Linked DNA regions of Homo sapiens: regions 2, 3, 4, 5 and 6 are each linked to region 1. The links are contacts of gene promoters, found by promoter capture Hi-C in blood cells and fetal thymus (Javierre and others, 2016). All regions are on one chromosome and are shown on one strand. Each heading gives the region's core, a stretch centred on a gene start or on the middle of the fragment in contact. The rest is flanking DNA. Distances are from core to core; before and after follow the strand shown. Region 1 holds the start of CPAMD8 (C3 and PZP like alpha-2-macroglobulin domain containing 8). Region 2 overlaps SMIM7 (small integral membrane protein 7). Region 3 overlaps TMEM38A (transmembrane protein 38A). Region 4 has its middle 25 kb from the start of NWD1. Region 5 holds the start of NWD1 (NACHT and WD repeat domain containing 1). Region 6 overlaps NWD1 (NACHT and WD repeat domain containing 1).

Region 1 (3,714 bases), core at 374-2,873:
GATCACCTGAGGTCAGGAGTTCCAGAACAGCCTGGCTAACATGGAGAAACCCCATCTCTATTAAAAATACAAAAAATTAGCCGGGTGTGGTGGCACACGCCTGTAATCCCAGCTACTCAGGAGGCTGAGGCAGGAGAGTCATTTGAACCTGGGAGGCGGAGGTTGCAGTAAGCCAAGATCGTGCCATTGCACTCCAGCCTGGGCAACAAGAGTAAAACTCCATCTCAAAACAAAAACAAAAACAAACCCCAAAAACAACAAACAACAAACAAAAACCTCTGTATAAGGCAGGGTCTCTCATTGGAGCCAAGGTCTGTCATGTGGGGCCGCGTCATTCCTTGCAGTGGAAGCTGACCTGCACATCGAAAGCTGTTTACCAGCATTCCTGGCCTGCACCCACTTAATGCCAACACCAAATGCCTCTCCCTATTTGTGACAACCAAAAATACCTCCAGACATTTCCCAGCGGCCTCAGGGAGACAAAAATCCCCCCCAGGGCTGAGAACCACTATTCTAAGGGATGCCAGCTTTGAAAGAAGCATTAGGATGAAAATTTGTAGGGTTCCGATTTCACGAAGCCTAGGAGAGGGAAGTCTGGATGCTCAGAGCGCAGTAGACTGTCTTGCTTTTAAAACTGTGACCAGCAAGGACCAACTACTCACTGCAAATAACGACACCCACCTAGTCTCACTGCTTACCAGTTTTCTGGAAACTCCTAAACAAGGGCTGCTTGAACAAGCCGCCTTCTAAACGCCCAGCTGGACTAAAAGGCTGGTCTTGTGCAGACCAGGGCAGCCCCCCTGAACCCGCAGCCCTGCAGAGCTCACCCGAACTTGCCAGGTTTAGAAATATTCTCTGTGAAGCCAACTTAGCAGTACTCCCCAGCAGTTAGTTAATTCACCTTCTCCCCGCTGTCAACCCACCAGAAGCCTGCAAGCAAACCTCTAGAAAAATGTAGAAGCAAAACAAACACTTCCTCCTCCCTCACCACGCCCACCCACGGGAAAGTGCCCCTTCGCACTCTCCTCCCACTTCTCAGCCAAGACGCTCCTCTTACCTTCATACCTTGGACAACTGGAAATCGCCACCCATGATGACAGCCCGGGTCACACGAAGGGGGCGAGGTGGGGCGGGGGGAGCTGACCTCAGCACCTTTAGCTTTTGGGAGTCCCTGTACCTCCACAGAGCCACTTCGGAAACTTTAGGGCGCCCCCTCCTCAAGACGATTCGGGAACAAGAGGCCAGGTCCAGCCCAGCGCGGAGGCTGTGTGGCCTTGGGCAGGTCGCTGCAACACTCTGAGCCAGTACCCGCGACCCCCACCCCAGAAGGCGACCGACCTCCTCTGTCGCCGGAGGATACTCACGGGGCCTGAGGCTGCGCGGCGCGCACGCCGTCCCGCGCCGACAGCAGCAGGAGCAGGAGCGGGAGCAACGGCCAGAGCAGGGCGCCGCTCATTTTTCGGCTCCTGGGGGGCGCCGCGCCTGGGGAGGGGGCCGGGCCAGGGCTGGGCCAGGGCCAGGGTCCGAGCGCGGCCGTCCTCGCGCCGCCGCCGGGGGCCCTTTGTTCGCAGCCCCCGCGCAGTGCGCCCGGCGCCATGCGCCCCGCTCCGCGCCCGGCCAAGCTGGGGCAGCCCCGGGCCAGCCCCCTCCCCGGACCCGCCTCGTCTCCGGGACCGCCCCGCTCGCCCCGCTCGCCCCGCTCCTGGGCGCACCCTCCCGGGACGCCTGCTCCGCCCATCTCCGGACCCCGACCCGCCCCGATCCCTTCCGGGGATCGTCCCCTCACTTACTCACCGGACCCACCCGGGCCCTGCCCGATTCCTTCCGAACCCGCCTCCTCACCCCCTACCCGGATTCGCCCCCGGATGCCCCCCTCCCCACCAGCCCCGCCTCGGACCCGACCCCCCACCGCCCCCACTCTCCCTCTCCTCTCCACCCAGCGTCCACTCGGAACCTGTCCCTTCCCTGGCCTCTCCCTCCCTCCCTCCCCAGCCAGCCCCTTATGGCCCCCTCCCCGGGCCCGCCCCTCACCAGGGGCCCCTGGGTCTGGACGCCGCCTGCAACCCCGATCCCACAGGCGCCGCCGTGCCCTAAGCCCTGGCCTGTATCTAGTGCCCAGTGCAGTGCGTACAGCCCAAGGAGCAGAGGACCCTTTGGGGAAACAGTCTAGCCAGGGGTCGAACCTCCCAGACTCACATCTGCCCCAGGTCCCTATCTGTGCTCTCTGCTCCCCTCTCCCCCACCCCCACTGTCCACAAATCCCTTGGGCCCGTCCCCTCTCTCGCTGGGCCTCAGAGTCCCCCTTTCCCCTTCATACAGCAGGGGTGGATGGGCACCCCCTTTCTCTCCAAGAGCAGGGTGTCCCCTCCTGCCCCTCCCCGTGTGGCCACCTCAGTGATGGTCCTGCTGTCCTAGGTCCCACTGGCAGGCGGCACATCCTATACCATGTCCAAGTCCTGGACCCCCTCCTTCCAGTGTGGAACCCCCTTCCCCCAGCTACCAACTGCCCTTCTTCTAAAATTCCAGTGCTGACCACACCCCCTCCTGCCCGGAATCCTCGGGGCTCCCTGTTTATTTTACATTTTATTTTTATGTTTTGAGACCAGAGTTTTGCTCTGTTGCCCAGGCAGGAATTTAGTGGTGCAGTCACAGCTCACTGCAGCTTCAGACTCCTGGAGAGTAGCTGGGACTACAGGTGCAAGCCCGCACCCAGCTAATTTTTATATATTTTTTTTTAGAAACGGAGTCGCACTGTGTTGCCCAGGCTGGTCTTGAGCACTGGGCTCAAATGATCCTCCCTCCTCAGCCTCCCAAAGTGCTGGGATTACAGGTGTGAGCCACCACATCCAGCCAGGGCTTCCCGTTTATTGAGACCAAATCTAAACTCTGGCTTTGATGGCAGAGACCTCAGCCTAGTTCCTCCAACACCCTGTTCTTACTCCACTGCCTGCTTCTGCCTAATCTCTGTCTTCCTCTACCTGCCTCCTTTGCCAGTCCAACTCCTGATCCTTCCAGGAAACTCAAGGGAAGCTTCTCTTGCCCCCTCCCTGCCCCTAGGGATGTGGGTCCTCTGGGGGCTTCTCAGCCCTGTCAACAGCCTTTGGACCCAACACTGATCACCCAGGCAGCACCAAGCCCTGGGCTGGGCAATGAGGACCCTGGGACATACAGGACCTGCTGCCACTGAGCACACAACCCAGAGGGGACGTAACTGATGATGGTGTGTTGGTGTGTGTGTGTGCGTGCACGCGCGCAGGGGCCGGAGTAGATTGAGTAGCCGTCTCTCCTGCCTGGAGAAGAGGAGGAGCTGCCTGCCTCCAAGCTCAGACCAGGCCAACCCCAAACAGGCTGCTAAACTCACATGGAGGTGCAAAAATCTAGCACCAAGAAGCAGCATCTGATCTCACCCTCATCATCGAAGTTTGCCCCATGCCACCCCTCCGGGCCCCTCCAGGCCAACTCTGACTCCTACCTAAGCCAACCTCCACTCCTCAGCCTCCAGGCCAGCCTTTGAGCCCTCCGCCTCCCCCTTGACCATTGGGCTCTGGCCACATTTGCTCCTGAGATACATCAGACCCCCACCCACCACCACCATCTTGGGCCAAGGTGCCAGCTGTCCCCTCTGCCTGGGATGCACTTCCCCGTGGCATCACAAGACCGGCTGCTCTCCTCCACCTTCAGGGTTAGCCCGGAGGTGCCTTCCCTGCCTGCCTG
Region 2 (3,714 bases), core at 814-3,313, 380 kb before region 1:
CTAAAAAATTTTTTCAAGCAAAGTAAAACAAACAAAAGCCACTTAAAGCCACACCAATGGTATTTAAGGATATTATGGACCCCTCCATGGTTATCTGCCCAAGGAAGCTAATGCCACAATAGAAGCCAATGAAGATCACAACACTGGTGCCAGGGGCAGCCCTGATCACAGTGGACAAAATATAATCCAAGTCCAGCAACAAGGTGGCTAAGGACCTATTTACTGACACTGCACCGTAAGTAAAAATGAGAACTGTAACACCTCCTAGCAACAAAGCAAGTGTAAAGAAAATGATGCTGAAATGAACACAGCAGAACTCATCCTTCCTTATCCACTCTCAAAACATACATACAGGAATATGGAAAATGCTGCATGGGGATGGTGAAGACAGGAAAAGGTTTACCAGGCTGGAAATTGTTTGCGTTTTTTTTTTTTTTTTTTTTTTTTGAGATGTTTTGCTCGTCGCCTAGGCTGGAGTGCAATGGCGCGATCTCGGCTCGCTGCAACCTCCGCCTCCCTGGTTCAAGTGATTATCCTGCCTCAGCCTCCTGAGTAGCTGGGATTACAGGCGCACGCCACCACACCTGGCTAATTTTTGTATTTTTTAGTAGAGACGGGGTTTTGTCATGTTGGCCAGGTTGGTCTCGAACTCCTGACCACAGGTGACCTGCCCACTTTGGCCTCCCAAAATGCTGGGATTGCAGGGTGTGAGCCTCTCACTGCACTCAGTCTGTTTGTAACTTTTTTTTTTTTTTCCGAGACAGAAGATCTTGCTCTGTCACCCAGGCTGGAGTGCACTGGCACGATCTCAGCTCACTGCAACCTCCACCTCCTGGGTTTTTAAGCAATTCTCTGCCTCAGCCTCCTGAGTAGCTGGGATTACAGGGGGCATGCCACCACACCCAGCTAATTTTTGCATTTTTAGTAGAGACGGGGTTTCACCATCTTGGCCAGGCTGTTCTTGAACTCCTGACCTCGTGATCCACCTGCCTCGGCCTCCCAAAGTGCTGGGAGCCACCGCGCTGGCCTCTGTTTGCAATTCGTAAAAATGCTGTCATCAGCCTTTAATGGTGTGTGTGCAGACTGCACAAAGAAAAGTGGATGAGAAGACAGAAAACACACACGGTGATGATACCCACAGCAACAGGTGCTCTCAGGCACTCAGCCGCATTCGAGTTCATTGAAACTTACAACAACCTTAGGCACACACTACTTGCAGGCCGATTTTAGAGATGTGGAAACTGAGGCTTGGAGAGGAGAAAGCAATTAGCCAAGGTCCCTCTCAGAATGAGCTGAGATGGGATTTGTACTCACACCTAACTGACCCAGAACATTAGTGCTTAAACACTGTGAGACACTAGGCACCCAAACTTCAAACTCTGATAACCTCTGGTGCCAGTAAAGTTCTTGAAAAGCTTCCTTAAGAGACACAACCATGAGATTCCATTTTTAAAATGTACAGCAGCCACCAACCAGCATCTGAAAAAGCCACGCTGCTATTATTAACAATGAGACAACAGTTCTCTGGAGAAAAAGAGGACTATTGAAACAAAACCTCAATGACAGGATTCTCTTCTGAGAGCACGATTCATCCCCATAATGGACAAATGCCTCGCCTCATTGAGACCTCCGCGCCAGTCTGAATAAGGCAGGAAGGTTTCTTCACACCATTCATCTGGCCTGTGAGGGACCCAGCCAAGATCTTGGCGTGCCTGTTCTGACAGCGACACCGGCCTCAGCAAAGCCAGACCCAGCAGCTCCGATCTCTGCTACTTACAGACCTTGGGGTGATGCTTGGCTGAGATTTGGCAAGGAAATGAATTGCAGAAGTGATCAAGGAGAATTCCACAACCTGAGAGGCAGCAAAAGTGGACTTGACCCTGGTCTAGCAAGAGCCCACCATTAGCAATGACTCTTTCAATACTTTCAGGAGCAGCTCCAGTCAAAATTCCACTTACTCAATTCTTTTTTTTTTTTTTTTTTTGAGACAGAATCTCATTGTCTCACCCAGGCTGAAGTGCAGTGGCTCAATCTCAGCTCACTGCAACCTCCGCCTCCCAGATTTAAGCAATTCTTGTGCCTCAGCCACCCGAGTAGCTGGGATTATAGGCGTGTGCCACCATATCTGGCTAATTTTTCTATTTTTAGTAGAGATGCGATTTCACCATGTTGGCCAGGCTAGTTTCGAACTCCTGACCTCAAGTGATCCGCCTACCTCGGCCTCCCAAAGTGCTGGGATTACAGGTATGAGCCACTGCGCGCAGCCCCACTTGCCCAATTCTTGACCATCATTTATTGAGCTAAATCCAAAAAGGAAACTCTACCACTGACTCTTTTCTTTCTCATGGCCTCCAAAATGAATCCTAGGTTTTTCCAGCAGGGTAAATTCAAAAGGACTCAGGTTGGAAATTGACTTCTTGGTTAAAAAAAAAAAAAAAGTATAAACAAAAGGTCCTTTTTAGAAATGAGGTTTATTTTCAAGGCTACTCAGTCCTAAAAGCCTGCATATTTACTTTTTTTCCTTCCTCCAGGTTTACCTCCAAGTCAGGATTTCAAAAACCACCAACATTCAGGCTCATTCTTATTGGTATAAACAAACAAACAAAAAAACCAGACAACAAAAAACTCAACAAGCAAATCACACAGTTGTGGGATTCAGCGCCAACCCCGGGCGTTTCATTTTGGCAACAAAACCAGGATTCCCTTTCAAAGAAGCTTCTGGAAAATGCTGTATTTCCTAGATGAAGGCCCCTGGTTTTTCAACCTCAAAATCACCTACTCAAAAAGCAGACTCAGAAACCCAAGGTTTTAGAACATGGTCCCAATGTACCACATCATAAAATCACTCTCATTCCTGCAACTGTACAATGAATGGCTCCCAAAGTCATTTTATTTAACAAAGGGGTCAAGGCAGAGGAAAGTTTCCCTTAATATCCCCACAACTGCTCCACATGTCTTCTGTGGAAACACTTCACCAGGAACTAGCTCAACACTCTTGCTAACAATTTAGTGTCTATACAGGAAGGCTGGTGTCTCTGTTACAGGTGGCCCGTTCCTTAAAGCCTTTAGGGTTAATCGCAGCTGCACTGAGTGGCCAAGCAGACCCTGTTGGGATGTGAAAGCAGTTTGTTAACAGGGCCCCTGGCCGGGCCCAGAGGCTGTCAGACTCAGCAAGTAACACTGAATGTCCAAAAATACGGCTGTGTTAAACTAACAAGCCAATCCTTCTGCTCAGATCTCTGGATAGAAATGATTTTTCTTTTATCTATGGGGAATGCAATTTCATCACAGCCCCTTACATAAACGCTCCTGAAACCCTTTCAGTAGACAGCATTTCAATTCAGAGACCAAAGTGAAACTATCTTTGAAAACAGGGACGTGGCTGGGAAACCATGCACACCTCGGCGAACACTTTTCCACCCACCACGAGCTTGGACTTTCTGGGAAGGTTGTCGGTTTTCTGGTCAAAAACATTCTTGAAGTCATCAGGAATGGAGGAATGGAGACTCGGCATCCCGGGAAAGTGAGTTCCTGGTTTCATCGCTGGGATTCAAGAGCCGAACAGCCTGGAGAAGTCAGAGGGCAGAAATGTCTGTGAGGATAGGAGGTGACTGTTCTAAAAATATTGTCAGCGATTATTTTACATGACTATTACCTATTACTTAGATGATTTTACATGATTGTCTGATTTTTTAAAGTAACCTGTGATCCACC
Region 3 (3,714 bases), core at 533-3,032, 360 kb before region 1:
CTTTGGGAGGCTGAGGCTGGTGGATCACCTGAAGTCAGAAGTTTGAGACCAGCCTGACCAACATGGTGAAACCCTGTCTCTACTAAAAATACAAAAATTAGCCAGGCGTGATGGCGGGCGCCTGTAGTCCTGGCTACTTGGTAGGTCGAGGTGGGAGAATCACTTAAACCTGCGAGGCGGAGGTTGCAGTGAGCAGAGATCATGCCATTGCACTCCAACCTGGGCAACAGAGCAAGACTCTGTCTCAGAAAAATAAATAATAAATAATAAATTAATTAAATAAATAACTCAGAATCATGGGGCTGAAGGAGGTGGCTCACATCTGTAATCCCAGCAAGTTGGGACACCAAGGCAGGCAGATCACTTGAAGCCAGGCGTTGGAGACCAGCCTGGCCAACACAGTGAAACCCTGTCTCTACTAAAAATATAAAAATTAGTCAGGCATGGTGGCGCAAGCCTGTAATGCCAGCTACTCCGGAGGCTGAGGCACGAGAATTGCTTGAACCTGGGGGGAGGCGGAGGTTGCAGTGACTCTGTCTCAAAAAAAAAAAAAAAAAAAAGAGATGGGGGTTCTGTTGTGTTGCCCAGGGTGGTCTTGAACTCCTGGGCTCAGGAGATCCACCTGCCTTGGCTTCCCAAAGTGTTGGGATTACAGACATGAGCCACTGCACCCGGCCAACCACTGATCTTTCTTTCTACTACCTCCAGAGTTTTGCCTTTTCCAGAATGTCCTTTAGTTGGAATCATGCAGTATGTACCCCTTTCAGACTGGCTTCTTTCACTTAGGAATATGCATTTAAGGTTCCTCCATGTCTTTTCATGTCTTGATAGCTCACTGGATAATATTTCTTTCTTTTTTCTTTTTCTTTCTTTTTTTTTTTTTTGAAATGGACTTTGCTCTTGTTACCCAGGCTGGAGTGCAATGGTTTGATCTTGGCTCACTGCAACCTCTGCCTCCCAGGTTCAAGTGATTCTCCTGTGTCAGCCTCCTAAGCAGCTAGGATTACAAGCATGTGCCACCACGCCTGGCTAATTTTTTGTATTTTTAGTAGAGATGGGGTTTCTCCATGTTGGCCAGGCTGGTCTCGAACTCCCGACCTCAGGTGATCTGCCCGCCTTGGCCTCCCAAAGTGTTGGGATTACAGGCGTGAGCCACTGCACCCGGCCAAATAGTATTTCATAGTAAGGATGTTTCATGGTTTGTTTATCCACTCACTCCCTGCAGGACATCTTGGTTGCAGTTTTAACTTTTTTTTTTTTTTTTTGAGACGGAGTCACTCTGTTGCCAGGCTGGAGTGCAGTGGTGTGATCTCGGCTCACTGCAACCTCCGGCTCACTGGTTCAAGCAATTCTCCTGCCTCAGCCTCCTGAGTAGCTAGGATTACAGGTGCCCGCCACCATGCCCAGCTAATTTTTGTGTTTTTAGTAGAGACAGGGTTTCACCATGTTGGCCAGGCTAGTCTTGAACTCCTGACCTCAAGTGATCCACCCGCCTCAGCCTCCCAAAGTGCTGGGATTACAGGTGTGAGCCACCACACCCAGACAAGTTTTAACATTTTTCATATGCTGTTAGGACCAAAGAAAACCATTCTTTGATCCCTGATTTGAGATCTCTGGTTTGAACTACAAGCTTTTTGAGGGCAGGAGGCTGTTGACTCCTGCTCCACCTTGTGAGGGAGAGGCTGCTATCTCCATTTAACAGGGGAGGAAACTGAGGCAGAATGCTGAGCTCAAAAGCTCAGGAGGAGAAGACTGGTCCTAGAGTCACTGAGAGACTCGGTCAGTACCCCATGCTTCATACACCTCTGACTGAATAGCACAGTGCTAGAGTGCCCTGGGGACCCTTCTAGTACCACCCAGTCATCTGCAAATGAGGCATTGACCCCTGAAAAGGGAAAGTCACAGAGTCCATTGCAGACCAGGACTTAGGGACCCAAAGCTTTTTCCTCTCTTCTGAGGCAGAGCTGATTTTTTTCTGTTTGTTTATTTATTTATTTATTTTTATTTTATTATTTTATTTTTTTGAGACAGAGTTTCGCTATTATCGCCCAGGTTGGAGTGCAGTGGCGCGATCTCAGCTCACCGCAACCTCCGCCTCATGGGTTCAAGCGATTCTCCTGCCTCAGCCTCCCGAGTAGCTGGGACTACAGGTGCCTGTCACCACGCCCAGCTGATTTTTGTATTTTTAATAGAGATGGGGTTTCATTCTATTGGCCAGGCTGATCTCGAATTCCTGACCTTGTGATCCACCCGCCTCGGTCTCCCAAAGTGCTGGGATTACAGGCATCAGCCACTGCGCCCGGCCTGTTTTTTGTTTTTTTTTTTTTTTGAGACAGAGTTTTGCTCCTATTTCCCAGGTTGGAGTGCAGTGGCATGATCTCGACTCACTGCAACCTCCGCCTCCCAGGTTCAAGCGATTCTCCTGCCTCAGCTGCCGGAGTAGCTGGGATTACAGGCATGAGCTACCGTGCCCAGCCGAGGCAGAGCTGATTTTTAAAAAATCCATCTACTGAAATTTCCACCCACAGGTACTTTCCATTTCCGCACTGTTCCAGAAATACCTCTTGCGTCGTTGCTAGGCGCTAAGCAATCTCTTTTTCACCCTCACAGGCATCTTTGGAAATGACTGATATAGATCTGGTGTGGTCACCTTGTCCAGGCTTTCCCAAGATGAGCATCGAAAGTCCCATGTCCAGCCGGGTGCGGGGGCTCATGCCTGTAATCCCAGCACTCTGGGAGGCCGAGGAAGGTGGATCACCTGAGGTCAGGAGTTTGAGACCAGCCTGGCCAACATGGAGAAATCCCATCTCTACTAAAAATACAAAAGTTAGCCGGGCCTGGTGGCGGGTGCCTGTAATCCCAGGTACTCGGGAGGCTGAGGCAGGAGAATCACTTGAACCCGGGAGGTGGAGGTTGCATCAAGCCAAGATCGCACCACTACACTCCAGCCTGGGCGACAGAGCAAGACCCCATCTCAAAAAAAGAATAAAAGAAAGTCCCATGTCCCAGGAAACCCCTGGGACCCAGGCAAAGGGGGATAGTTGGTCACCCTAGACCGCCTCCCCCTCCTACATATGGGCAAACTGAGGCCCAGGGAAGGGAGGGACTAGCCTAAGCTCACCCAGTCAGAGGGGAATGTGTTCATGGCATGCGGCAGTTGAAAACCTATTGGCTTCATGGGGCTGTCCCAAACCCATCAAGAGAAACCAAGGAGTATGGAAAGGGGAAAGGACCTGGGCTTTTTTTTTTTTTTTTTTTTTTGAGGCGGAGTCTCACTCTGTCACTCAGGCTGGAGTGCAGTGGCACGATCTTGGCTCACTGCAATTTCCGCCTCCTGGGTTCAAGCAATTCTGCCTCAGCCTCCTGAGTAGCTGGGATTATAGCCATCCGCCACCATACCCAGCTAATTTTTGTATTTTTAGTGGAGACGGGGTTTCACCATGTTGGCCAGGCTGGTCTCAAACTCAAACTCCTGACCTCAAGTGATCCACCTGCCTCGGCCTCCCAGAATGCTGGGATTACAGGTGTGAGCCACTGCGCCTGGCCGTCATCTTGGTCTTTTGACAGTGAAGCAAACTAAGGCTTGGGGGGGCAGGCAGTCACTTGCCCAAGGCCATGCTAGAGTGAGTAGCAGAGCCAGAAGCTAGGCATGTGATGAGGTTTTGCCATGTTGCCCAGGCTGGTCTTGAACTCCTGAGCTCAAGTGATCTGCCT
Region 4 (3,714 bases), core at 397-2,896, 330 kb before region 1:
AGGAGTTCGAGACCAGCCTGGTCAACGTTGTGAAACCCTGTCTCTGCTACAAATACAAAAAATTAGCCAGGCGTGGTGGTGTGCACCTATAATCCCAGCTACTTGAAGGCTGAGGCGGGAGGAGCCCTTGAACCTGGGATGGGGAGGTTGCAGTGAGCTGAGATTGCACCGCTGCACTCCAGCCTGGGTGACAGAGCAAGATTCTATCTCCAAAAAAAAAAAAAAAAAAAAAAAAAAAACCAAAACAAAACAAAACAAAAAACAAAATGTTAGCCTGGCACAGTGGCTCACCCCTGTAATCCCAGCACTTTGGGAGGCCGAGGTGGGCAGATCACTTGAGATCAGGAGTTTGAGATCAGCCTGACCAACATGGTGAAACCCCAACAAGGTGTAATTTTGTAAAAATACAAAAATTAGCCAGGCATGGTGGCACCTGCCTGTAATCCCAGCTACTCAGGAGGCTAAGACGGGAGAATCACTTGAACCCAGGAGGCAGAGGTTGCAGTGAGCTGAGATTGCGCCACTGCACTCCAGCCTGGGTGACAGAGCAAGACTCCGTCTCAAAAAAAAAAAACCAACAAAACAAAAACACTATAAGTTAAACATAGGGTGGTCATGGGTGACTCACACCTATAATCCCAGGGCTTTGGGAGGTGCAGGACGGAGGACTGTTTTAGCCCAGGAGGTTGAGGCTGCAGTGAGCTGTGATGGTGCCACTGTACTGAAGCATGGGTGACAGAGCAAGACTCTGTCTTTAAAAAAACAAAAATGTGAATAAATGAACAGCTGTGCTCCGCCCATAGTATTGCCTACTGTTCAGCGAAAAAAAAAAAAAGGCGGTGGAGGTGGTGAACATGCAAAAACATGAATGAGTCTCGAATGTATCCAGATTGGTGGGAAAAAGCCATACAAAAAAGAATGTGTAATATAGGCATCCATTTATCTGAAATCCTAGAAAAAGCAAACTATTGTAACAGAAAGCTGATCAGCATGTGGTTGGGGAAAGAAGGACAGGGTAGGGCAGGTGAGAGGAATTTTGCAGTGGCACCAGGAAACTCGGGTGATGGATCTGCTGATGGCTTTGATTGTGCTGGTTTCTTGGGTCTATACCCATGTCTGAATCTATTAAATTTTACTTTTGGGTTTTTGTTTTGTTTTGTTTTTTGAGATGGAGTCTTGCTCTGTCACCCAGGCTGGAGTGCAGTGGCACGATCTTGGCTCACTGCAACCTCTGCCTCCTGGGTTCAAGTGATTCTCCTGCCTCAGCCTCCTGAGTAGCTGGGATTACAGGTGCCCACCGCCATACCTGGCTAATTTTTGTATTTTTAGCAGAGACAGGGTTTCACCATGTTGGCCAAGCTTGTCTCAAACTCCTAACCTCAGGTGATCTGCCCGCCTCGGCTTCCCAAAGTGCTGGGATTACAGGCGTGGGCCACCGTGCCTGTGCCTGGTCTAAATTTTGCTTTGATTACTTAAGATTTAAAAAAAAATTAACTTTTTTCTTATTTATTTATTTAGAGAGACAGAGTCTCGCTCTGTCGCCCAGGCTGGAGGGCAGTGGTGCAATCTTGGCTCACTGTAACCTCTGCCTCCTGGGTTCAAGCAATTCTCCTGCCTCAACCTCCAGAGTAGCTGGGATTACAGGTGCCCACCACCACGCCTGGCTAATTTTTGTATTTTTAGTAGAGACGGTTTTGCCATATTGGCCCGGCTGGTCTCGAACTCCTTGCCTCAAATGACCCACCTGCCTCAGCCTCCCAAAGTGCTGGGATTACAGGCTTGAGCCACCACGCCGGCCTCTTTTTTATTTATTTTTAATTAATTATTTTTTACTTCTTTTTTTCCCACTCATTCAACCTAAGTACTTAAAAGTTTTCATTTTATATATGCATAGTTCATCTATCAGTTATGCCTCAGTAAAGCTATAAAAAAAGAAGCTTTCAATTATAAGGAAAAAAAGTCTGGGCATGGTGGCTCATGCCTGTAATCCCCGCACTTTGGGAGGCCGAGGCCAAAGGATCACTTGAGCTGAGGAGTTCATGACCAGCCTGGCCAACACAGTGAGACCCAGTCTCTGCAGAAAAAAAAAAAAAAAAAAATTAGCCAGTTGTGGTGATGTGAGCCTGTAATCCCAGCTACTCAGGAGGCAGAGGTGGGAGGATCGCTTGAGCCCAGGAGTTCGAGGCTGCAATGAGCTGAGATTGCACCACTGCACTCCAGCGTGGATGACAGAGTGAGACCCTGTCTCATAAATAAATGAATAGGCTGCAGTAACATACTCCAGACAGAGTCGCTTAAGCCACAGACATTTATTTTTCCCTAATTCTTGAGGGTGGAAGTTTGACATCAAGGTGTCAGTTGGTTTTGTTTCTCAAGGCCTCTCTGCTTGGGTGGCAGACGGCCGCCTTCTCTGTCCTCGTATAGTCTTCCCTCTTCGTATGTCTGTATCCTAGTCTCCTCTGCCTACGAGGACACCAGTGAATTAGATCAGGGCCCACCTATAGACTTTTTTTAAAACTTAATTATCTTTTTTTTTTTTTTTGAGATGGAGTCTGGCTTTGTGGCCTAGGCTGGCGTGCAGTGGCGCCATCTCGGCTCACTGCAACCTCCACTTCCCGGGTTCAAGTGATTCTCATGCCTCAGCCTCCCGAGTAGCTGGGATTACAGGCACGTGCCACCATGCCTGGCTAATTTTTGTATTTTTAGTAGAGATGGAGTTTCACCACGTTGGCCAGGCTGGTCTTAAACTCTTGATCTCAAGTGATCCACCCACCTCAGCCTCCCAAAGTGCTGGGATTACAGGCATGTGAGCCACCCTGCTTGACTGACTATTTTAACTTAATTGTCTCTTTAAAGACCTTATCTCAATCAGTTTGGTGCTAAAAAAATTTAAAAAAAAAAGACCTTATCTCCTGTTTTAGTCCTTTCAGTGTGCTACAACAAAATACTATAAACTGGTGGCTTGTAAACAACAGAAATTTATTTTTCATGGTTCTGGAGGCTGGGAAGTTCAAGATCAAAATGCTGGCAGATTCACTGTCTGGTAAGGGCTGGCTATCTGGTTCACAGATGGTGTCTTCTTTTGGTGTCCCCACATGGTAGAAAGATCAAGGAGTTTCTTGGGGGCCTCTTGTGGAAGGGCACTAATCCCATTATGAGGGCCACATCCTCATGACCTAATCACCTCCCAAGGGCCGCACCTCCTAATACCATCACCTTGGGGCTAATTTTGGACTCAGGTGATCTTCCTACCTTGGTCTCCCAAAACAAAGGGATGTGAGTCTCTGTGTCCAGCGTCCTTTAAGGATGGATTAAATTAAAGTAACTGACAATGCCTGGTGCAGGTAAAGATTTGGGGGCAGCTGGAGCTCGCACACTGCTGGTGGGAGACAATTGGACAGTTTCTTTTAAATTTATTTATTTATGTATTTATTTGAGATAGGGTATCACTCTGTCATCCAGGCTGGAGTCCAGTGGTGCAGTCATAGGTCACTTCAGCCTCGACCTCCTGGGCTCATGTGATCCTCCCGCCTCAGCCGCTTGAGTAGCTGGGACTACAGGCACACATCACCACATCCAGATAATTTTTGTATTTTTTATATAGATGATGTCTCGCCCTGTTGCCCAGGCTGGTCTGAAACTCCTGGGCTCAAGTGATCCTCCTGCCTCAGCCTCCCAAAGTGCTGAGATTACAGGTGTGAGCCACCTTGCCCA
Region 5 (3,714 bases), core at 1,149-3,648, 310 kb before region 1:
GCTGTTAGCTCACTTCCTTGCCAAGGAAACTTGGGAAATTGTTTAACTTCTTTGAAGCCTATTTTCTTTCTTCTTCTTTTTTTTTTTAAACGCAGTCTCACTTTGTCACCCAGGCTGGAGTGCAATGGCGTGATCTCGGCTCACTGCAACCTCCGCCTTCCGGGTTCATGCGATTCTCCTGCCTCAGCCTCTCGAGTAGCTGGGATTACAGGTGCTCACCACCACGCCCAGCTAATTTTTGTATTTTTAGTAGAGACAGGGTTTCATCACGTTGGTCTGGAAGCCTGTTTTCATCATCAATGAACTGGGATAGTAAATTGAAGCCCCCAGATTGCTTGGAGTATTGGAGACAGTATGTTTCCTAAAATTTCAGCCCCTAAAACTTCTTTTCTTTTCTTTTTCTTTTTTTGTTTTAAAGAGACAGGGTTTTGCTCTGTTGCCCAGGCTAGAGTGCAGTGAGGCAATCATATCTCACTGCAGCCTTGACTTTCTGGGCTCAAGTAATCCTCCCACCTCAACCTCCCGAGTAGTTGGGACTACAGGCACACACCACCACGCCCAGCTAATTTTTTGTTATTGTTGTTGTTGTAGAGATGAGGGTCTCACTATGTTGCCCAGGCTGGTCTTGAACTCCTGGCCTTGAGTGATCCTCCCACCTTGGCTTCCCCAGTAGCTGGGACTACAGGAGCATGCCACTGTGCCTGGCAGCACCTGAAACTTCTTTTTTTTTTTTTTTTGTGAGATGGAGTGTAGTGTGGCTCTGTCGTCCAGGCTGGAGTGCAATGGCGTAATCTCTGCTCACTGCAACCTCTGCCTCCCAGGTTTAAGTGATCCTCCTGCCTCAGCCTCCCAAGTAGCTGGGATTACAGGCACCTGCCACCATGCCTGGCTAATTTTTGTTTTTAGTAGAGATGGGGTCTCACCATATTGGCCAAGCTGGTCTCAAATTCCTGACCTCAGGTGATTTGCCCACCTCGGCCTCCCAAAGTGCTGGGATTACAGGCATGAGCCACCGCGCCTGACCAAGTATCTGAAACTTCTATCCCTGAAAATATAGTAACACTATTATTATTACTTTTTCTTTGAGATGGAGGCTTGCTCTGTCGCCCAGGCTGGAGTGCAGTGGCGCAATCTCGGCTCACTGCAAGCTCCACCTCCCAGGTTCATGCCATTCTCCTGCCTCAGCTTCCTGAGTAGCTGGGACTACAGGTGCAAACCACCACGCCCAGCTAATTTTTTGTTTTTTGTTTTTTGTTTTTTATGTAGAGACAGGGTTTCACCATGTTAGCCAGGATGGTCTTGATCTCCTGACCTCGTGATCTGCCTGCCTTGGCCTCCCAAAGTGCTGGGATTACTGGCGTGAGCCACCATGCCTGGGTGACTTGTGAGTTTTTGAGACAAAGTCTCGCTCTGTCACCCAGGCTGGAGTGCAGTGGTGCGATCTCGGCTCACTGCAAGCTCCACCTCCCGGGTTCATGCCATTCTCCTGCCTCAGCTTCCTGAGTAGCTGGGACTACAGGTGCAAACCACCACGCCCAGCTAATTTTTTGTTTTGTTTTGTTTTGTTTTTTTTGTAGAGACGGGGTTTCACCGTGTTAGCCAGGATGGTCTTGATCTCCTGACCTCGTGATCTGCCTGCCTTGGCCTCCCAAAGTGCTGGGATTACTAGCGTGAGCCACCATGCCCGGGTGATTTGTGAGTTTTTGAGACAAAGTCTTGCTCTGTCGCCCAGGCTGCAGTGCAGTGGCAGGATCTCGGCTCATTGCAACCTCCAACTCCCAGGTTCAAACAATTCTTGTGCCTCAGCCTCCCAAGTAGCTGGGATTACAGGCATGCGTCACCACGCCCAGCTAATTTTTCTATTTTTAGTAGAGATAGGGGTCTCACCATATTGGCCAGTCTGGTCTTGAATGCCTGACCTCAGGTGATCCGCCTGCCTCGGCCTCCCAAAGTGCTGGGATTACAGGCATGAGCCACCGTGCCCGGTCTTGGAGTTTTAATGGTAATTAATCATGGCTAACATCTCACGGGCCCTTCCTGTGATGTAGGTGTAGTGTTAGTCTCACTCTCTATATAAATGCTTTTCATTGTCTCACCAACACAGGAAGTTAGTGAGAAAATTCAAGTGCAGAGTAGTGAAGCGTCACAGGCAAGGGACTTCACCTTTCTGCATCTTGTTTTCTTCATCTGTGAAACAGGATCATAATGTCTGTCTCTTGGGGTAATAATGTGGACTGCTAATGCCAAATGCCAACCAACTGCACCTCCTAGACTGTCAGCAAATGGCATCTTTTACGAGGAGCCGTATCAGCCTGGCACACAATAGTTAACCACTAAGTCTGGGCTGAATGCCCGGCTAAGCTGGTGCCCTAGTGCAAACAATCGCTTTCATTATCCCAGTTGCTGGGAGAATTGGGCAAGGAGAGACCCATAAAATACCTAAGACGAAAGTTACTAGGATAGCCAGGGGCTTGTCTTCCGGGTGGCGCCGAGGCCAGGAAACTGTCCTCTCTAACCTATTTCCCCAGAGGAGTCTAAATTGGTCGTTCAACTACCAGCAAAGGCTAAAGAGAGGCTGGAGCCCCCAGGACAGCCAGAACGCTGACACTGCAAAGGGCCTCTGTCCTTACTGGGGAAGCCCAGTCCTGCTCAGCTGTCTTCTTCAGCAACAAACAGAAGTCCAGAAAGAGAAACAGTTGTGGAGGAAGCTGTTGTGATGATAATTTACTGAGCACCTACTATGTGCCAGGCACGCCAGCCTTACCAGACAAGATCCTTGGGCTCATGGAATTCACTTTCTCGTGGGACAGACAAACAATAACATGTAGAAACATATCAGCTGTTGGTGAGTACCATGCAGAAAATTAAAATAAGGCGATGGCATTGGGAGTGACTTAAGGGGTCACTACGCAATGGGATGGTCAGAGACAGCCTCTCAGGAGGAGGTAGCATTGAAGCTAAAATGTGAACAACATGAACAGATGCAGCATAGAGCACTAAAGTACAGGACGTGCAAAGGCCCTGAGGTTGAAATAAGCTAAATGCATTAGACTAGGGGGTTCTCGAGTAAGGGGAATTCTGCCCCCTAGGGGACATTGCAATGTCTAGGGAGACTTTTTTTTTTTTGAGACGGAGTCTCGCTCTGTCACTAGGCTGGAGTGCAGTGGCGTGATCTCAGTTACTGCAAGCTCTGCCTCCCAGGTTCACACCATTCTCCTGCCTCAGCCTCCTGAGTAGCTGGGACTACAGGTGTCCGCCACATGCCCGGCTAATTTTTTGTATTTTTAGTAGAGACGGGGTTTCACCGTGTTAGCCAGGATGGTCTCGATCTCCTGACCTCATGATCTGCCCTCCTCGGCTTCCCAAAGTGCTGGGATTACAGGCGTGAGCCACCGCACCTGGCCGAGACTTTTTCTTTTTGAGATGGAGCCTTGCTCTGTTGCCCAGGCTGGAGCGCAGTGGCACGATCTCGGCTCACTGCAACCTCTGCTTCCCGGGTTCAAGCGATTCTCCTGCCTCAGGCTTCCGAGTAGCTGGGATTACAGGTACATGCCACCGCGCCAGCTAATTTTTGTATTTTTAGTAGAGATGGGGTTTCGCCATGTTGGCCAGGCTGGTCTCGAACTCCTGGCCTCAAGTAATCTGCCTGTTTTGGCCTCTCAAAGTGCTGGGATTAGAGGTGTGAGCCACTGCACCCAGCCTAGGGATACTTTT
Region 6 (3,714 bases), core at 709-3,208, 290 kb before region 1:
TTTCAAAGCAACAGTTTGAAAATGGCCAAGTTCCTTTTTTAAAAAAGCTTTTCTGTCAGGGCGAGGTGGCTCATGCCTGTAATCCCAGCACTCTGGGAGGCCGAGACAGGCAGATCACGAGGTCAGGAGATTGAGACCATCCTGGCTAACACGGTGAAACCCCATCTCTACTAAAAAATGCAAAAAATTAGCCGGGCATGTAGTCCCAGCTACTCCGGAGGCTGAGGCAGGAGAATGGCGTGAACCCGGGAGGCGGAGCTTGCAGTGAGCCAAGATTGCGCCACTGCACTCCAGCCTGGGTGATAGAGCAAGACTCCATCTCAAAAAAAAAAAAAAGATTTTCTTTCTTTTTTTTTTTCTTTTTTCTTTTTCTGTTTTTCTTGCAACAGGGTGTCGCTCTGTCACCCAGGCTGGAGTGCAGGCATGCAATCACAGCTCACTGCAGCTTTCTGGGCTCAGGTGATCCTCCTGTCTCAGCCTCTCAAGTATCTGAGACTACAGGCACACACCACTACACCTGGCTATTTATTTATTTATTTATTTATTTATTTATTGTAGACACAATGTCTCCCTATATTGTTCAGGCTGGTCTCAAACTCCCGGCCTCAAGAGATCCTCCTCCCTCAGCCTCCCATAGTGCTGGGATTATAGGGGTAAGCCACTTTGCCCTGCCTCTGTTCTAATTTTTTTATTTTAATTAACTTGCTTTTTTATTTCTTAATTTTTATTTTTTTAGAGATGAGGTCTTGCTACATTGCCCAACCTGGTCTTGAACTCCTGGGTTCAAGCAATCCTCATGCTTCAGCCTCCAGAGTAGCTGGGATTATAGGCACATGCCACCGTGCCCGACTAAATGTTTATAAATAAACTTCTGAATTTGGAATTTAGGCTTACAGGAAACGCATGGACAGTACGGAGTTCCCATACACCCCACACTCTGTGTCTCCTAACGTTTTACCTAACCACAGCACAACCAACTATGTTGTTACAACTATGAAATGAACTTTGAGGACAGGTGCAGTAGCTCGTGCCTGTAATCCTAACATTTTGGGAGGCTGAGGCAGACAGTTCACTTGAGATCAGGAGTTTGAGACCAGCCTGGCCAACATAGCAAAACTTTATCTCTAATAAAGATACAAAAAAATTAGCCAGGCGTGGTGGTGCACGCCTGTAATCCCAGCTACTCGGGAGGCTGAGGCAGGAGAATTGCTTGAACTCGGGAGGCGGAGGTTGTGGTGAGCTGAGAGTGCACCACTAAGCTCCAGCCTGGGTGACAGAGCAAGACTCTGTCCCCCTGACCAAAAAAAAAAAGAAAGAAAGAAAGAAAGAAATCAGTCTGGGGGCAGTGGCTCATGCCTGTAATCCCAGCATTTTGGGAAGCCGAGGTGGGTGGATCACCTGAGGTCAAGAGTTCGAGACCAGCCTGGCCAATATGGTGAAACCTTATCTCTACTAAAAATACAAAAAATTAGCCAGGCATGGTGGTGTGCGCCTGTAGTTCCAGCTACTCAGGAGACTGAGGCATAAGAATCGCTTGAACCCATTAGGCAAAATTTACAATGAGCCAAGATCATGCCACTGGAAGGAAGGAAGGAAGGAAGGAAGGAAGGAAGGAAAGAAGGAAGGAAGGAAGGAAGGAAGGAAGGAAGGAAGGAGGAAGGAAGGAAGGAAGGAAGGAAGGAAGGATTTTCCAGTGAGACAAGATTGCGCCACTGCACTCTAGCCTGGGTGACATAGCAGGACTCCAACTCAAAAAAAAAAAAAAAGATAAATCAACATTGGTACATGACTGTTAACCTCCTGACTTTATTCAAATGTTGCCAGCTCTTCTATCTAAGTCTTTTCTGGTGAAGAACCCCATCCAGGGTACCCCATTGCATTTCGTTGTCTTATTGCCCTAGTCTCCTCTGGTCTGTGTCAATTTCTCAGTCACCTTATTTCTCATGACCTTGGCAGTCTTTTTCTTTCCTTCTTTCCTTCTTTCCTTCCTTCCTTCTTTCCTTCCTTCCTTCCTACCTTCCTCTCTCTCTTTCTTTTGACAGAGCCTGGCTCTGCTGTCCAGGCTGGCATGCAGTAGTACAATAAGAGCTCACTGCAACCTCTGCCTTGTGGGCTCAATTGATCCTCCTACCTCAGCCTCCCGAGTAGCTGGGACTACAGGTGCCCACCACCATGCTTGGCTTTGACTGGCAGGGCATCTTGAAGAACGCCCTTCCCTCTAGTCTGGGTCTGTCTGTTATTTTTCTCATGATTATACTGAGGTTATGAATTTGGTTCAAGTTCTTTTAATCCAGACATCCCCCTACAGGAAGAGGCTGTCAAAAATTTTTGAAAGAAACTTTCTGCTTTGTCAAAAGGGATTGAAAAAACAAATCACCTGTCATGCCACCTCTCTGACAAACTTGTGTTTCTATTTCCCAGGTCGTTGATCTGAGGTGGGGTATTCGGAACATTGAAGCCACTGACCACTTGACCACAGAACTCTGCTTGGAGGAGGTTGACCGGTGTTGGAAAACATCCATAGGGCCAGCTTTTGTTGTGAGTGTCTTGGGAGGAATGGGTTAGCTCTTACTCCTCCAGGATATGCCCCCTGCTTTCTAGACAAACTGATCAGCAGAGGGAAGTAGGTACCGTTTCTGCTTTCGTACCTTATCCCTATGGCCTGCCTGTGGCAGACATTACTAATCAATCACAGAACTCTTTCTGCAGAGCTGAATGGGATCCAGACATTAGCAGTCAAATGGAAGCAGCAGGTGGCTTGGAGAGTAGAATGTTGAAGCCAGAAGGAATCTTGGAATTTGATCTGGACTTTCTCCCACCTTCCCCACCCCCTCCACTTTATGTCTATAGAACTTTGGGATCCTGGAAAGCCATGGAAAAGGTGGAAACCCACAGGGTCTTGGGATATTTTTTTTCCTCCATGTGCCCACTGGTTTCAGGTCGTGGGGACTTCTCCCCTCTCTCTTCCAATTGCACCCCTTCTATCAAAAAATCAATCTCCAGTCCACAATTAATGGTTTTGGCTATTAAAATTGAATGATATTCCTGAGTCTTTTTTCTTTTTCTTTTTTGAGACAGAGTCTCAAAAAAGCCCAGGCTAGAGTGCAGTGGCAAGATCATGGCTCACTACAGCCTTGAACTCCTGGGCTTCTGATCTCCCTGCCTTGTTCTCCCAAGTAGCTGGGACTACAGGTGTGTGCCGCCACAGTTGGCTAGTATTTTTTTGGAAATATGGGGTCTCACTATGTTGCCCAGGCTGGTCTTGAACTCCTAGGCACAAGTGATCCTCCCACCTTGGCCTCCCAAAGTTCTGGGATTACAGGCATAAGCCAATGCACCTGGTCTAGTTTTAAGTTTTTTTTTTTTTTTGAGATGGGTCTTGCTATGTTGCCCAGGCTGGCCTGAGTCCTAATTTATTACATCGAGTTCCAGATACATCCAAGAACGATCACATTTTCCTTAGAAATTCTAGAGCAGGGGGCCGGGCGTGGTGGCTCACACCTGTAATCCCAGCACTTTGGGAGGCCAAGGTGGGTGGATCATGAAGTCAGGAGATTGAGACCAGCCTGGGCAACATAGTGAAGTCCCATATCTACTAAAAAATTAGCTGGGCATGGTGGCACGTGCCTGTAATCCCAGCTACTTGGGAGGCTGAGGCAGGAGAATTGCTTGAACCTGGGAGGCAGAGGTTGCAGTGAGCCGAGATCATGCCAC

Evidence for each region. The method cuts DNA at HindIII sites, captures the fragments that hold promoters and counts their contacts. A CHiCAGO score of 5 or more calls a contact.
Region 2: a contact is called between a fragment that was not itself captured here and the fragment with the promoter of CPAMD8 in region 1, in 1 of 17 cell types (endothelial precursors). The highest score is 5.7, in endothelial precursors.
Region 3: a fragment that was not itself captured here is called in contact with the fragment with the promoter of CPAMD8 in region 1 in 1 of 17 cell types (endothelial precursors); the score reaches 6.1 in endothelial precursors.
Region 4: a fragment that was not itself captured here is called in contact with the fragment with the promoter of CPAMD8 in region 1 in 3 of 17 cell types (M1 macrophages, M2 macrophages and erythroblasts); the score reaches 6.2 in M1 macrophages.
Region 5: the fragment with the promoter of NWD1 here is called in contact with the fragment with the promoter of CPAMD8 in region 1 in 8 of 17 cell types (M2 macrophages, endothelial precursors, erythroblasts and 5 more); the score reaches 11.7 in M2 macrophages.
Region 6: a contact is called between a fragment that was not itself captured here and the fragment with the promoter of CPAMD8 in region 1, in 1 of 17 cell types (endothelial precursors). The highest score is 5.9, in endothelial precursors.

What each region holds. Positions count from the first base shown.
Region 1 is chr19:17,025,187-17,028,900 of GRCh38, forward strand. It overlaps CPAMD8 (C3 and PZP like alpha-2-macroglobulin domain containing 8), which reads right to left and starts at 1,624. Exons shown (of 42, transcript NM_015692.5): 1 at 1,365-1,624. The coding sequence starts at 1,456. RefSeq lists an enhancer at 1,796-2,704. The HindIII fragment of the contact is 6,852 bases long and covers 1-3,028 here.
Region 2 is chr19:16,643,696-16,647,409 of GRCh38, forward strand. SMIM7 (small integral membrane protein 7) reads right to left here. Exons shown (of 5, transcript NM_024104.4): 5 at 2,453-3,566. The coding sequence ends at 3,551. Among named protein-coding and RNA genes, the nearest start is that of SMIM7, 15 kb to the right of the region's middle. The HindIII fragment of the contact is 1,300 bases long and covers 1,414-2,713 here.
Region 3 is chr19:16,667,963-16,671,676 of GRCh38, forward strand. The region is part of intron 1 of TMEM38A (transmembrane protein 38A); the gene reads left to right. Among named protein-coding and RNA genes, the nearest start is that of TMEM38A, 8.7 kb to the left of the region's middle. The HindIII fragment of the contact is 309 bases long and covers 1,629-1,937 here.
Region 4 is chr19:16,693,421-16,697,134 of GRCh38, forward strand. No RefSeq gene overlaps it. Among named protein-coding and RNA genes, the nearest start is that of NWD1, 25 kb to the right of the region's middle. The HindIII fragment of the contact is 578 bases long and covers 1,358-1,935 here.
Region 5 is chr19:16,717,449-16,721,162 of GRCh38, forward strand. It overlaps NWD1 (NACHT and WD repeat domain containing 1), which reads left to right and starts at 2,399. Exons shown (of 19, transcript NM_001007525.5): 1 at 2,399-2,845. The HindIII fragment of the contact is 21,822 bases long and covers 1-3,714 here.
Region 6 is chr19:16,734,213-16,737,926 of GRCh38, forward strand. It overlaps NWD1 (NACHT and WD repeat domain containing 1), which reads left to right. Exons shown (of 19, transcript NM_001007525.5): 4 at 2,422-2,538. Among named protein-coding and RNA genes, the nearest start is that of NWD1, 16 kb to the left of the region's middle. The HindIII fragment of the contact is 3,826 bases long and covers 46-3,714 here.